4 separate regions of the Homo sapiens genome follow, and all the other regions are linked to region 4. The links are contacts of gene promoters, found by promoter capture Hi-C in blood cells and fetal thymus (Javierre and others, 2016). All regions are on one chromosome and are shown on one strand. The core of a region is centred on a gene start or on the middle of the fragment in contact, and the rest is flanking DNA. Distances in the headings are between cores, read along the strand shown. Region 1 overlaps PTGES3L-AARSD1 (PTGES3L-AARSD1 readthrough). Region 2 has its middle 9.5 kb from the start of AOC3. Region 3 has its middle 28 kb from the start of G6PC1. Region 4 holds the start of PSMC3IP (PSMC3 interacting protein).

What was found. The method cuts DNA at HindIII sites, captures the fragments that hold promoters and counts their contacts. A CHiCAGO score of 5 or more calls a contact.
Region 1: a contact is called between a fragment that was not itself captured here and the fragment with the promoter of PSMC3IP in region 4, in 2 of 17 cell types (endothelial precursors and megakaryocytes). The highest score is 6.1, in endothelial precursors.
Region 2: a fragment that was not itself captured here is called in contact with the fragment with the promoter of PSMC3IP in region 4 in 1 of 17 cell types (megakaryocytes); the score reaches 5.3 in megakaryocytes.
Region 3: a contact is called between a fragment that was not itself captured here and the fragment with the promoter of PSMC3IP in region 4, in 5 of 17 cell types (megakaryocytes, erythroblasts, endothelial precursors and 2 more). The highest score is 12.4, in megakaryocytes.

What each region holds. Positions count from the first base shown.
Region 1 is chr17:42,950,598-42,954,313 of GRCh38, forward strand. PTGES3L-AARSD1 (PTGES3L-AARSD1 readthrough) reads right to left here. Exons shown (of 17, transcript NM_001136042.2): 15 at 3,127-3,181; 16 at 1,203-1,297; 17 at 1-131. It overlaps AARSD1 (alanyl-tRNA synthetase domain containing 1), which reads right to left. Exons shown (of 12, transcript NM_001261434.2): 10 at 3,127-3,181; 11 at 1,203-1,297; 12 at 1-131. Among named protein-coding and RNA genes, the nearest start is that of AARSD1, 12 kb to the right of the region's middle. The HindIII fragment of the contact is 8,438 bases long and covers 1-3,716 here.
Region 2 is chr17:42,858,950-42,862,529 of GRCh38, forward strand. No RefSeq gene overlaps it. Among named protein-coding and RNA genes, the nearest start is that of AOC3, 9.5 kb to the left of the region's middle. The HindIII fragment of the contact is 3,530 bases long and covers 443-3,580 here.
Region 3 is chr17:42,927,611-42,930,959 of GRCh38, forward strand. No RefSeq gene overlaps it. Among named protein-coding and RNA genes, the nearest start is that of G6PC1, 28 kb to the left of the region's middle. RefSeq lists enhancers at 839-1,415, 1,305-1,454. The HindIII fragment of the contact is 1,916 bases long and covers 1,000-2,915 here.
Region 4 is chr17:42,575,646-42,579,050 of GRCh38, forward strand. PSMC3IP (PSMC3 interacting protein) reads right to left here and starts at 2,084. Exons shown (of 8, transcript NM_016556.4): 1 at 2,008-2,084; 2 at 1,816-1,916; 3 at 1,568-1,657. The coding sequence starts at 2,041. RefSeq lists a silencer at 1,996-2,045 and an enhancer at 2,346-2,435. The HindIII fragment of the contact is 6,888 bases long and covers 1-3,030 here.

The DNA of each region.
Region 1 (3,716 bases), core at 552-3,051, 370 kb after region 4:
CCTTAGCACTCTGCGTGCTGATGTAGTCCTGGAGAAGCGCCTGCGCCTCCATCCGCCGGCTCATCTTGGTGGCCTTGCCCTGAAAACGGCCTTTCTTCCCTGCTCCTTTGCCTTCCAGGACCTCAGCCACCCTGGGGAACAGAGGTATAGTCAGGGAGACTTTGAGGGAAAAGTCACAAAAAAAAACAAGGGCAGCTCTGAGTCTTTTTCCAGGGACTGGGAGAGGGATAAGAAGAGTAGATGACTTCTAGGAATCTTTCTTGAAAACACTTGCACATAGGCTGGGCATGGTGGCTCACACCTGTAATCCCAGCACTTTGGGAGGCCAAAGTGGGTGGATCACCTGAGGTCAGGACTTCAAGACCAGCCTGACCAATAGGATGAAACCCCGTCTCTACTAAAAATAAAAAAATCAGCCGGGCATGGTGGTATGCGCCATAATCCCAGCTACTCAGGAAGCTGAGACAGGAGAATTGCTTGAACCCGGGAGGCAGAGGTTGCAGTGAGCCGAGATGGTGCCATTGCACTCCAGCCTGGGCAACAAGAGTGAAACTTTGTCTCAAAAAAACACTTGCACATATGCACAAAGATATATGTACCATCATCACATAAGAGTGAATAACTGGAAACAACATCAGTGTCTATGAATTGGGCTAGATAAATTATGTTAATCTCCAGAGAGCAGGGTGAGCACCTGTAATCCCAGCACTTTGGGAGGGCAAGGCAGGTGGATCACTTGAGGTCAGGAGTTCGAGACCAGCCTGGCCAACATGGTGAAACCCTATCTGTACTAAAAATACAAAAAATTGGACGGGTATGGTTATGTGCACCTGTAATCCCAGCTACTTGAGTGGCTGAGGCAGGAAAATTGCTTAAACCTGGGAGGTGGTGGCTGCAGTGAGCTGAGTAGCCTGGGCTCTCCAGGCTGGGCAACAGACTAAGACTCCATCTCAAAAAACAAAAACAAACACATTTCATAAAAACAAAAACAAAAACATACATGTGAGATGTGGAGCCAAAAGACCTTCAACTGTCAAACTGGAAATGACAGTAGTAATAATTATCTCTGCTCAGCCCACCTCACATGCCCATGATGTGAATTAAATGAGATCGCAGATGTGATGGTCCTTTGACTCAGTAAAGGAATGTATTTGTAGGATACAGGCTCTACTACATGTGCAAGAGAGTCCACAAAGAATTACCTGGGCCCCAGGGTCTCCACAGACGCAGGTGGCCCTGCCAGTAAGAAGAGTCCACCACCTTTCTCATCGCCCACAGTTAAGAACAGGAGGGTCTCCTAGGAGGTAAGACAAGGAGATAAGCTCTGATACTGAAGGATGTAGAGTCAACCCCCCAAATCCTGCACTCTCTTCAATCTTAAGAATAGATTATTTCCCCCTAAACCACCAAGTGACGCTCCTGATGAATGATGATACAGCCCCTCCACACTGGCCCACGAGGGCCAAGAAACTTTTTGAGAGCAACTATGGGAACTTAGGTGAAACATTAAGAAGGCAGCAGAAGACTGCTGATCCTGGCTAAGCAGAAAATGCCTTTCATGGTTTCACTCTTGCAAACTTTTCCCCACCACACATCCTTTCCCTGCCACTGCCTAAACCACCAGGTTTCCCTCTGCCTGGCCGCCTCTGCCCCTTGTCTGTCTGATGACCTCTAAGCAGTCTTCAAGGGCCCCTCCCCTGAAACCTCCCTATCCTTCAGGTAATGTGCTCCTCCACCTCTAGCATTCATCACTCTATCATTCTGAATTATAAATGTCGACATACATATTTGTCTCCCAGACTAGAATATGAGCTTCTTGAGAATCAGTTCTGTCTATACAGAAGAATTATGAAAAGAGAGATACACAACGCTTTACCCACAGTAGGCATTCCAAAGAAGGGTTCTGGAGTAAATACAAAAGAGATAGTGGGGCATGGTGGCTCATGCTTGCAGTCCCAACTACTCAGGAGGCTGACGTGGGAGGACTGCTTGAGCCCAGGAGTTCAAGACTGCAGTGAGCCATAATCACGCCACTGTACTCCAGCCTGGGTGACAGAGCAAGACTCTGTCTCTGAAAAAAACAAACAAACAAACAAACAAACAAAAGACCTGGAAATCTCTAGGCTAGAGACCATCAGGAGTGGGAAGAGTAAGTAAAGCCAGAGGAAGAGGAAAATGGACGGGGATGGCTTTCAAAGGGGCTTGCCCACTCCTGTATTTACTTTTTTTTTTTTTTTTTGGAGACAGTCTGTGTTGCCCAGGCTGGAGTGCAGTGGCGCAATCTCGGCTCACTGCAACCTCAGCCTCCAGGGTTCAAGCAATTCTCCTGCCTCAACCTCCCAAGTAGCTGGGTCTACAGGCACCTGCCACCACACCCAGCAAATTTTTGTCTTCTGTTTTGAGACAGAATCTCACTCTGTAGCCCATGCTAGAGTGCTGTGGCACAATCTCAGCTCACTGCAACCTCTGCCTACCAGGCTCAAGAGATTCTCATGCCTCAGCCTCCCGAGTAGCTGGGATTACAGGCGCATGCCACCACGCCTAGCTAATTTTTTGTATTTTAGTAGAGATAGGGTTTTACCATGTTGCCCAGGGTGGTCTCGAACTCCTGAGCTGAGGCAATCCACCCGCCTCAGCCTCCCAAAGTGCTGGAATTACAGGCGTGAGCCACCATGCCTGGCCTGATTTTTCTATTTTTAGTAGAGATGGGGTTTCACCATGTTGGCTAGGCTGGTCTCCTGATCTTAAGTGATCCACCCACCTTGGCCTCCCAAAGTGCTGGGATTACATGCGTGAGCCACCGCGACCAGCCCACTGATATATTTCTAATATTGGATCCCCAGCACACATAAACCTGAATGGCTTTGAGGAGCTAGAGCTCTGATGAAAGGAGCTCAGAAGCTAATAAACATCACAGCCCCAGAGAGAGCAATAACATAGATCTAGCTCAACACCTAAAACAGAGCTTGGCATATAGCTAGTACTAAGAAAACAGTATTGAATGAATGGCTATTTCCTCCTCCTCATGTGTTCATGTGGAGGGACTTTGGCTAAACTAGCGCCCCTCACTTATGTCTCCCTAGGTCTCTATCCAGGCCGGGGTAGAGAATCTCATGCTCCTCTTACCTCTGACCCAATCTCATTGGCAATGATATTCATGAACTCTGAATCACCCTCCTTCCTACAACAAAGGACACAGACATGAGACCCAGGTTGGAGTGGTGGCTGTGAAACTGCAGGAAGCCTGGCCCCTCCTTCTGAGGCTGGCCTTGCTGCCTATGTACACATAAAGTCCCATATCCCTTAGCCAAGAGAGAGTACTGGCTGAAAGCCAGCAAGCTGCCCTTCTCAGCCTCTGCAGTTTGTAATCAACCTCCAGGTTTGTTTCCATCTCCCTTAAATAGGATTCACCAGGATAAGCAGAAATCTGTTAGAGAGTAAAGGAGGTAGGGGACAGTCCTAAAGAAAGATACAGGCTGGACACAGTGGCTCACACCTGTAATCTCAGCACTTTGGGAGGCCAAGGTGGGCAGATTGCTTGAGGTCAGGAGTTCAAAACCAGCCTGGCCAACATGGGGAAACCCCAGCTCTACCAAAAATACAAAAGTTAGCCTGGTGTGGTGGCACATGCCTGTGATCCCCCAGCTACTCGGGAGGCTGAAGCACGAGAACCGCTTGGACCCAGGAGGCACAGGTTACACTGAGCCGAGATCATG
Region 2 (3,580 bases), core at 958-3,457, 280 kb after region 4:
CTCCATCTCCCGGGTTCAAGCGATTCTCCTGTCTCAGCCTCCTGAGTAGCTGGGATTACAGGTGCTGCCACCACGCCCGGCTAATTTTGTATTTTTAGTAGAGACGGGGTTTCACTATGTTGGCCAGGCTGGTCTCGAACTCCTGACCTAAGGTGATCTGCCTGCCTTGGCCTCCCAAAGTGTTGAGATTACAGGTGTGAGCCACTGCACCCGGCCTGAACTTCTCATTTCAATGCATATCCTCTTGTCCCCACCTCCTTACGGCTCTTTCTTATGGCTACTTGCACCATCATCAGTGCTGGGGGAAGGGGAGCAAAGGAATTCAGATATCCACCCCCGCACCCTCACCATCTTGTTCACTGGAATTTAGTTGCCTTGAAACCCATCTCCAGACCAAAGTGTTTGTATGTGTTGTGTGTGTAGTTGTATGTCAATTCTCACAAGCTTTTATATGAAAACGTGACTGGTTGTGTCTGCTTCCTTATATCTCAGCATGGTGATGATGCCACCTGCCCCAGGCCCCAGATGAGGGGAGGCAGAATGGACATCTAGATTGTTAGAACATCAGTTCAGCTCGGGTCAGGAGGGCCGCAAGGTGGACCTCCAGCCCCACACCCCAATCCAATCTCTTCCTTAGACCACAGAAGTTGTCTGGAGTCTTGGCTTCAGACTTGTGGTCAATTGTCTAGGAGTGATTACTGGCTGAGGATGTCAGGTTCTGAAGGAACTGGTGCTGCCAAGGCTCAGATCTTCAGGACTTGGGGCCCAGTGGCCTGAGATAAAGGAGTTGGACAAGGGAATCCCTGAGGCTTGGGTCAGAGGGCATGACTAGGACTTCTCCAGGAATGTGAACATGGCAACCCCCTGTGAGGACATGAGGTGTGCCCACTCGCCTCACCTCTTTTATTTTTTTTATTTTGAGATGGAATTTCACTCTTGTCGCCCAGGCTGGCGTGCAATGGCATGATCTTGGCTCACTGCAACCTCCACTTCCCGGGTTCAAGTGATTCTCCTGCCTTAGACTCCTGAGTAGCTGGTATTACAGGCACCTGCCACTACGCCCGGCTAATTTTGTAGTTTTAGTAGAGACGGGGTTTCACCATGTTGGCCAGGTTGGTCTCGAACTCCTGACCTCAAGTGATCCGCCTGCCTTGGCCTCTCAAAGTGCTGGGATTACAGGTGTGAGCCACAGCACCCGGCCCCCAGTGACTTCTTAAACACAAAATCAACAGGAGCTCCTGGCCGCCTACTTTCTGGACCTCTCGGTGGCGTTTGACAACACCAACTGTCCTCCCTCTTGGAACCCTCTCCCATCTTGACTCTCCCACATTGTCCCCTTTTCATCCATATTTGCTCCTTCTCAGTCTTCTCAGGCTCCTTGACTTCTGCTCCCCCTACCTACTCATGGAGCCCCAAGCTCTTGCCTTTTCTAGGGTTCTGTCCTTGGTCCTCCTTTCTCCTCTCTCCAGAAGTCCTCTGTGGGTGATCTCAGCCTTTCTTTCTTTCTTTTTTTCTTTTCTTCTTTCTTTTTCTTTTTTTCCCCCCTTAAGAAAAGGTCTTGCTCTGTCACCCAGGCTGGAGTGCAGTGGTACCACCATGGCTCACTGCAGCCTCAACCTCCCAGACTGAAGCGATCCTCCCACCTCAGCCTCCCGAGCAGCTGGAATTACAGGCGTGTGCCACCATGCCTGGCTAATTAAAAAAAATTTTTTGTAGGCCAGGCGCGGTGGCTCATGCCTGTAATTGGAGCACTTTGGGAGGCCGAGGCAGGTGGATCACCTGAGGTCAGGAGTTCAAGACCAGCCTGGCCAACGTGATGAAACCCCATCTCTACTAAAAATACAAAAAATTAGCTGGGCATGGTGGCGGGTGCCTGTAATCCCAGCTACTCCGGAGGCTGAGGCAGGAGAATCGCTTGAACCTGGGAGGTGGAGGTTGCAGTGAGCCGAGATCACATCACTGCACTCCAGCCTAGGCAACAAGAGTGAAACTTTGTCTCAAAAAAAAATTTTTTTTGTAGAGACCATGTCTCGCTCTGTTGCCTGGTCTCAAACTCCTGGGCTCAAGTGATCCTCCCACCTCAGCCTCCCAAAGTGCTGGGATTACAGGTGTAAGCCACCACGCCCAGCCAGCCTTTCTTACTTTAACTGTCAATATTTGTCATTGGCCAAATCTCTTTCTACACGTATGTTTTTGGTGTTTTGTTTTGTTTTTGAGAGAGGTTCTCACTGTATTGCCCAGGCTTCAGTGTAGGGGTGCAATCTTGGCTCACTGCAAACTCCACCCTGTGGGCTCAAGTGATCCTCCCACTTCAGCCTCCCAAGAAGCTGGGACCACAGGCATGCACCACTATACCTGGCTAATTTTTTATATTTTTGGTAGATAGGGTTTTGCCATGTTGCCCAGGCTGGTCTTGAACTCCTGAGCTCAAGGAATCTGCCCATCTTGGCCTCTCAAAGTGCTAGGATTACAGGTATGAGCCACCACGCCAGCCTATATATATATGTATTTTTTAAGTTATTGTAGAGATGAGGCCTTGCTATGTTGCCCAGAGTGGTCTTGGACTCCTGGGCTCAAGCCATTCTCCTGTCTCTTCCTCACAAAGTGCTGGAATTACAGGCATGAGGCACCACACTCAACCAAAATAAATCTTTTCTCTGTTTTTTCTTTTTTTAGTGACAAGGTCTTGCTCTGTCACCTAGGCTGAAGTGCAGTGGCACAATCATAGTTTATTGCAGCCTTGAACTCCTGGGCTCAAGCAATCCTCCCGCCTCACCCTCCCAAGTAGCTAGGATGTGCCTGGCTAATTTTTTTTTAATTTTTTGTAGAGATCTCTATATTGTCCAAGCTGGTCTTGAACTCCTAGGCTCATGTGATTCTCGACTCTTGGCATCCCAAAATGAAGGGATTACAGGTGTGAGCTGCTGCACCTGGTCAACATTAGTTGTCTTTTTTTTTCTTTTGAGACAGAGTCTCGCTCTGTCACCCAGGCTGGAGTGCCGTGGTGTGATCTCAGCTCACTGCAACTTCTGCCTCCCAGGTTGAAGCAATTCTCCTGCCTCAGCCTCCTGAGTAGCTGGGATTACAGGTGCCCACCACCATGCCCAGTTAATTTTTGTATTTTTCGTAGAGATGGGGTTTCACCATGTTGGTCAGTCTGTTCTTGAACCTTTGACCTCAAGTGATCTGCCCATCTTGGCCTCCCAAAGTGCTGGGATTACAGGCGTGAGCCACTGTGCCCAGCCCCAACATTAGTTGTCTTAATGGCATGTTCTTAGCCAAGAGCTGGAGGTAACTTCCCCGCTATTGACCATAACCTACCAAAGGACCAGACACAAGTTCCCTGGCTGGGATGGATTGCCTTGTGGCTAGGCCTTGACATTAGATTTTATTTCCTTTATCCTAAAGGTCACACAACTGTTGCAGGACACAGAGGACTAGAGAGACTAGTATGGGTGAATACAGGAGGATATTTATTAGGTGTGTACCAGCTCAGTGGACTCACAGCTAAAAAGCTGAGCACTGAACAAAGACAGAGTTTAGCTTATACAGGCTAGTACACAGAAACAGGACAAAGGCA
Region 3 (3,349 bases), core at 708-3,207, 350 kb after region 4:
GGCTGGAGCACGGTGGCATGGTCATAGCTCACTGCAGCCTCAACCTCCTGGGCTCAAGAGATCCTCCCAACTTAGCCTCCAGAGTAGTTGGGAATACAGGTAGATACCACAATGCCTGGGTAACTTTTTAATTTTTCATAGAGATGAAGTTGCACTGTGTTGCTCAGGCTGATCTCAAACTCCTGGCCTCAAGCAATCCTCCCACCTTGGCTTCCCAAAGTGCTGGGATTATAGGCATGAGCCACCATGCCCGGCTGAATTGTACATTATTTATTTATTTTATTTTATTTTTTTGAGACAGAGTTTTGCTCTCATCCCCCAGGCTGGAGTGCAATGGTGTGATCTCAGGTCACTGCAACTTCCGCCTCCCAGGTTCAATCAATTCTCCTGCCTCAGCCTCCCGAGTAGCTGGGATTACAGGCACCCACCACCACACCAGGCTAATTTTTATATTTTTAGTAGAGATGGCGTTTCACAATGTTGGCCAGGCTGGTCTCAAACTCCTGACTTCAAGTGATCCACCCACCTTGGCCTCCCAAAGTGCTGGGATTACAGGTGTGAGCCACCGCACCCCAGCCACAGCATTTCTTTTCTTTTCTTTTCTTTTTTTTTTCTTTTTGAGATGGAGTCTCTCTCTGTTGCCCCAGACTGGAGTGCAGTGGCGCAATCTCAGCTCACTGCAACCTCCACCTCCTGGATTCAAGTGATTCTCCTGCCTCAGCCTCCCAAGTAGCTGGGATTACAGGCATGTGCCACCATACCCAACTAATTGTATTTTTAGTAGAGACGGGGTTTCAGTATGTTGGCCAGGCTGGTCTTGAACTCCTGGCCTCAAGTGATCCACCTGTCTCTGCTTCCCAAAGTGCTGGGATTACAGGCATGAGCTACCTCAACTGGCTACCAAATTGTGCATTTTAAATGTGTGAATTTTGTGGTGTGTGAATTATATCTCAATAATGCTCTTACCAAAAAAAAAAAAATCTTTATATGGCCTCTGAAAGCTTACCTCAGCTGGACCTTGTCTACCGCACCTCACCTGGTCTCCTTCACCTCATTCCACAAAGCACAGCCAATGTCATCTTGGTTCCTCCAATGCAACACACTCCAGCCCTCCTCCGAGCTTGGGCTTTTACACACCCCCCTTCTTAGAACACTCTTCTGCCTCTTCACATAATTCAGTCCTCCACATTGGTATCACTTTCTCAAGGAAGCCTCCCTGCCCACCCACCATGAGTCATGATCAAGTTCCTCTTCTGGGCCTGCCAAAGCACCCCTTTTACTTTGCTCTCTACCAAACGTCACTTTGTGATTATTTGGATCATGTCCGTCTTCCCCACTAGACTAGGCCCCATGAGTGCAGCTCCATGCCTGCTTTGCTCACTCTTGCACTTAAACCCTGTGCCTAGCCCTGGCCTAACACATGAGGAGGACTCCAGATATCTTGGTTGAATAATAAATGAGCAATATATTACTGTTTGCCCCTAACTTGGAAAACAAATGATAGGTTCAACAATTCTAGAGCTCCACAAATGACTCAGCAAAAACATGTTCGGAGGCACTCCCAACGTGAAATTAGAAGGTTGGAAACTCAGAGGACGGGACAGGCTTAGATAGAAACATTGGCCTCTTCCCAGGTAAGTTCTCCCCAGGAGGTGGGGAGCAAACTCTCTGAGCAGCCAGTTACAGGGAACTCATGACTAAGCTCTGTTGCTGTTTATCAAGATACACACTGACTCTCAGAAGTTCTAGCGTGAACCAAATCCTGCTTCAACCCCATGGGCTTTCAGTGTAGGACTTTTTCTTTTTGTTGGTGATCACACACCCTACTGGTGGCTTAACCAATTACATTGCCTCAGCCCCTGTGACACTCCAGCTCCGCGTCCCCTTTATGATGCTTCAAATATCATAAAAGCAGAGAAAAATCATATGTCATATATCAGAAAATCATATATCAACTTTTTTTTATTTTGAGGTCTTTCACACACTGAACTTATTTTAATCATAATTGTCAATTATAAATAAACATAATTACTATGTTCCTTTTTTGATGTCAAATTGTTGCAATTTGGACAGTGGCTTCCTTATCCTTCTACCATTGCTGGCCTAAAATCCTTGTGTTCTAGGCCCATTCCAAATTTTCCTTGTTCCAAGACACAGAATCAGCCACCCACTAAGAAGTCTCATTTCCTTTTGATGGGTGCACGAGAGTGGGAGGTTAGCAGAAGAAATGCTGTTAATGGGCTAGGTGCAGTGGCCTAGCCTGTAATCCCAACACTTTGGAAGGCTGAGGCAGGAGGATCACCTGAGGTCAGGAGTTCGAGACCAGCCTGGCCAACATGGGGAAACCCCATATCTACTAAAAATACAAAAAATTAGCTGGGCGTGGTGGTGTGTGCCTGTAATCCCAGCTACTCAGGAGGCTGAGCCAGGAGAATTGCTTGAACCCAGGAGGCGGAGGTTGCAGTGAGCTGAGATCATGCCACTGCACTCCAGCCTGGGCAACAGAGAGAGACTTCATCTCAAAAAGGAAAAAAAAAAAAAGAAGAAGGAAAAGAAATGCTGTGGCCAGGGCATGGTGGCTCACGCCTGTAATCCCAGTACTTTGGGAGGCTGAGGCAGGTGGATCATGAGGTCAGGAGCTCAAGACCAGCTTGGCCATTATGGTGAAACCCCATCTCTACTAAAAATACAAAAATTAGGCAGATGCCTATAATCCCAGCTACTCAGGAGGCTGAGGGAGGAGAATCACTTGAACCTGGGAGGCAGAGGTTCAGTGAGCCAAGATTGAGCCACTACAGTCCAGCCTGGCAACAGAGCGAGACTCCATTTCAAAAAAAGAAAAAAGAAAAAGAAAAAGAAATGCTGTTAATGAACTGTATTTTAGGGTCAGAGCCAGGAAATTATATTTCTCTTAAAGCTTATGGGTTCACAATAATGTTTCCAATTGAACTCTATGTTGTAATTTTTTATTCAATATAAAATATTTTCAGGCCAGGCCCGGTGGCTCATGCCTGCAATCCCAACACTAGAAGGCAAGACGGGAGAATTGCTTGAGACCCAGAGTTCAGGACCAGCCTGGGTAACATACCGCAACCCCCTCTCTATAAAAGAAAAAAAAGATATAATTGTTTTCATTTATTTTATCTGCAATATTCCTGCATAGAGATTTAATCTTCACCCTCACTATAATTGCATTTCCTTTACTAGCCCTCATTTGCCTTGCCAACCGCCATTATACCGTCCCTTTGCTGATGGTGATGTCTGTTGGCTTGGTCTCCTTGTTCTGGTTGACCAGACTATCCTCCTGTTATAAACAGCAGGAAACACAACCCCAAAACACACATACACA
Region 4 (3,405 bases), core at 834-3,333:
TCTGCCCTAGAGGAACTTCAGTTGAATAAAGGAGACAAGTAAAAATTGTAATACAGCATGCCTCAAAAGAGGTAAGGGCCAGGCTGGGCACAGTGGCTCATGCCTGTAATCCCAGCACTTTGGGAGGCCGAGGCGGGTGGATCACGAGGTCAGGAGATCAAGACCATCCTGGCTAACACGATGAAACCCCATCTCTACTAAAAATACCAAAAAAAAAAAAAAAAAAAAATTAGGCTTCGTGGCGGGTGCCTGTAGTCCCAGCTACTCTGGGAGGCTGAGGCGGGGGAATGGCGTGAACCCAGGAGGTGGAGCTTATAGTGAGCCGAGATTGTGCCACTGCACTCCAGCCTGGGTGACAGAGCGAGACTCCGTCTCAACAACAACAACAACAACAATAACAAAAAGAGATAAGGGCCTGAAAAAGAAACAATTAGCTCGGAGCATTCAAGGAAGATTTCTGGAAAAGGTGATGTCTAAGTGAAATCCTCAAGGAAAGAAAGAGCTGGCCAGGAAGAGAAGCAGGTACAGGGAAGACAACATGCAAAGGACAGAGCAGTAAAACACACCAGAATTATCTAGTGTTCGTGGATAGAAAAATAATGAGGATTGGTGAGGCCAGAGGCTGGCTGGGGCGTCTTCCGGTGCCTTTTACATGTTTTTTGCAGCACTAGAGAGCCATTGAAGAGTTTTAAATAGGGAAGGTGCATGACCAGATCTATTTAGACAGATCATTCTGACTGCAATGTTTAAGAGTTTAAGATATGTTTGAAGAGCCAAGATCTGTTAGGAGGATACTGCAACAAATAAAGAGGGCGTGAACTAGAGCAACCATGGCAGATGGAAAGGAGAGTGGATTCAAGAATGGAAAAATTAGCCAGGCTCTGTGGTTCACGCCTGTCCTCCCAGCACTTTGGGAGGCCAAGACAGGAGGATCACTTGAGCCCAGGAGTTGGGACCAACCTGGGCAGCACAGTAAGACCCATCTCTATAAAAATTAAAAAAATAAATAAAAACGGAAAAATCAGCTGGACTTGATGGTTGACTAGTAAAGGAAGTCAAGAATTGCTCCCAATTTCTGGTTTGGGTGAAGAGTAATTCCATTAGGGGAGGAGAATGTTAGAAAGAAACCAGTCCGGGGTGGGGGGAAGATGAGGCATTCTACTGTGGCAATTTTGACTCTGATATTAATGCCTGACAGATTCCAGCTGGAGGTCTGGGCTGGAGAATATAAATTTGATATGTGTGTTTAGAGAATCGGATGGAGGCAGGAGGAACATCATTTGGCAGAGGGTGTTGCTAATGTAGATGATAAGGAATAAGAGCTTTGGAGCGGAAATGGATCTTGGTAGCAACAATACAGAATCTTCTGTCATCCATCATATTGTAAATCTGGAAACCTCGTGAAGTTGGGATCCTAACAAGAGGAGTACACACCTTGATTTAAGGATGGTGGCCTAAGACAGGTGAGTTTTCCATGGGGGGCCTTGTCCCCAAAGAGTTCACACCAGGAGTAGATTCACCCGTTGTCGGGCTCTCATGGGTGACAATCGGCGCAAGTTCTCCTCACCTGATCCGCAAAATAGATCTTCTGCTTGCCGTACATCTTCTCTTTGATCTTGCCTTGTTGCGCCAGCTGCTCCAGCGTCTTCACCACCACCTGGCAGAGGAGAGAGAAGGAGCAATCAGAGGAGTCTGAGCCTGGGTCTGGGGAAATCCAGCCAGTGATGTGGAAAACGCCCAAGGCTCCAAAGGGCACGACCCCAGCCTGAATCCAGGGAGTCCGACGGAGAGGGAATCCCGGGAGAAGGTCCTCACCGCCTTGCCCAGTCCGTGTTCCCGCTGTAGGTTCCCGAACACATCCTGGGAGCTGTAGGGCCGGTTCTGCTCCTGCAGGTACCTCAGGAGGATCCCGGCGGCTACGGAGAGAAAGGCAGGGGAGGGGGCCACTCAACCGACCTCCTCACCCACTGCCCTCCCGGGTCTTCCCCGCGCCCACGGCGCCGTTACCTCCCGCCGCAGCTTCTGCCCGGCCTTTACTCATCGCCTTTCCCGCCACCCAACTCAGAAAGCCGGACGTTGTAGTTGCTCGGGGCGACGGCTCCTTCCGGCGACGGGGGCGGGCCTCGAACGGTGATTGGCTGAAGGGGAAGCCTTCCGGAGGAGCAAAGCGACCCCTCCCGGACTCCATAGTTCATTTCAGGTCGGAACTTGCGCATTCGGGCCGGACCTCAAGCCATGGGCCTCTGCGAAGGCGCCGGCGTGCCCACGGCTAAGAAACTTCCTCTTTCTGCTCCCGGGAACGAAGGCTGTAGCAGAGAAGGCCTTCAAGTTTCGAGACCCAGTTCCAGCCGCAGCTGAGCACTGGTGACCTTGAATTAAGTCTAATGTTGGGATTGGAAGACGCTTCAGACATCCGCTGCCGCCCTGGGCAAGCGACCAGCTCAAGGTTACCCCACAGGGACGTGCTCTGGTCCCACGGTCCAGTGCTCTTTTGTCGGTTAGTTTTGTCATTTGTAAAATAGGAACAGTAGATAGTGGTAGGAAAGTGGTTGTGAAAACTTAATAGAAAGCTAAGCGCCTTGGTCGGGCGCAGTGGCATGTCACCCCTGCAATTCTATCACTTTGGGAGGCTGAGGCGGGCGGATCGTTTGAGCCCAGGAATTCGAAACCAGTCTGGGCAATATGAAACCCCATCTCTGCAAATAAAGTACAAAAAATTAAGAGTGGTGGCGCGCTTCTGTGGTCCCAGCTACTCTGGAGGCTGAGGTGGGAGGGTCACCAGAGCCCCGGACATCGAGGCTGCAGTGAGCCACTATGAGCGCGCCACTGCACCCCATCCTGGCGACAGAGCGAGACGCAGTCTCGAACAAAAAAAAAAAAAGTGGGAAGGGGGGACAGCTAAGCGCCTTGGAGAGCAACCACCCTTATTTGCCTAATACCGAGCTTCGCACCCAGGGGGCACTCGACACCTACTGTAGTTTGGACGCCAAGGAACGATAGGGTTAGGAGGGGGCTACTGTTCAACCACAAAGCTTGTGGAAAAGTTTGTTAGCCCAGACAATCTCAGGGCAACACCTGGCAGGTGCTTTCCACCCCTGACCACAGTGGCCAATGGGACAGAGCCTGAAATAAATATTTCTAGTTTCTGAGGTGAGCTGAAGGCCAAAGAGCAGCTGTCCCTGCAGCTCAGACCATCCAGTGAAGGAGTAAGGTGCTACTTTTTAAAGCCTTCTGCTACCTACAACCTCCTTAGCCTTTAAAACGTGTGCTTGTCTCTGCACGTTTAGGAGACAATATTAAGAATTAGAAATGAAAGGGCCGAGCGCGGTGGCTCACGCCTGCAATCCCAGCACTTTGGGAGGCCAGGGCGGGCGGATCACGAGGTCAGGAGATCGAGACCATCCT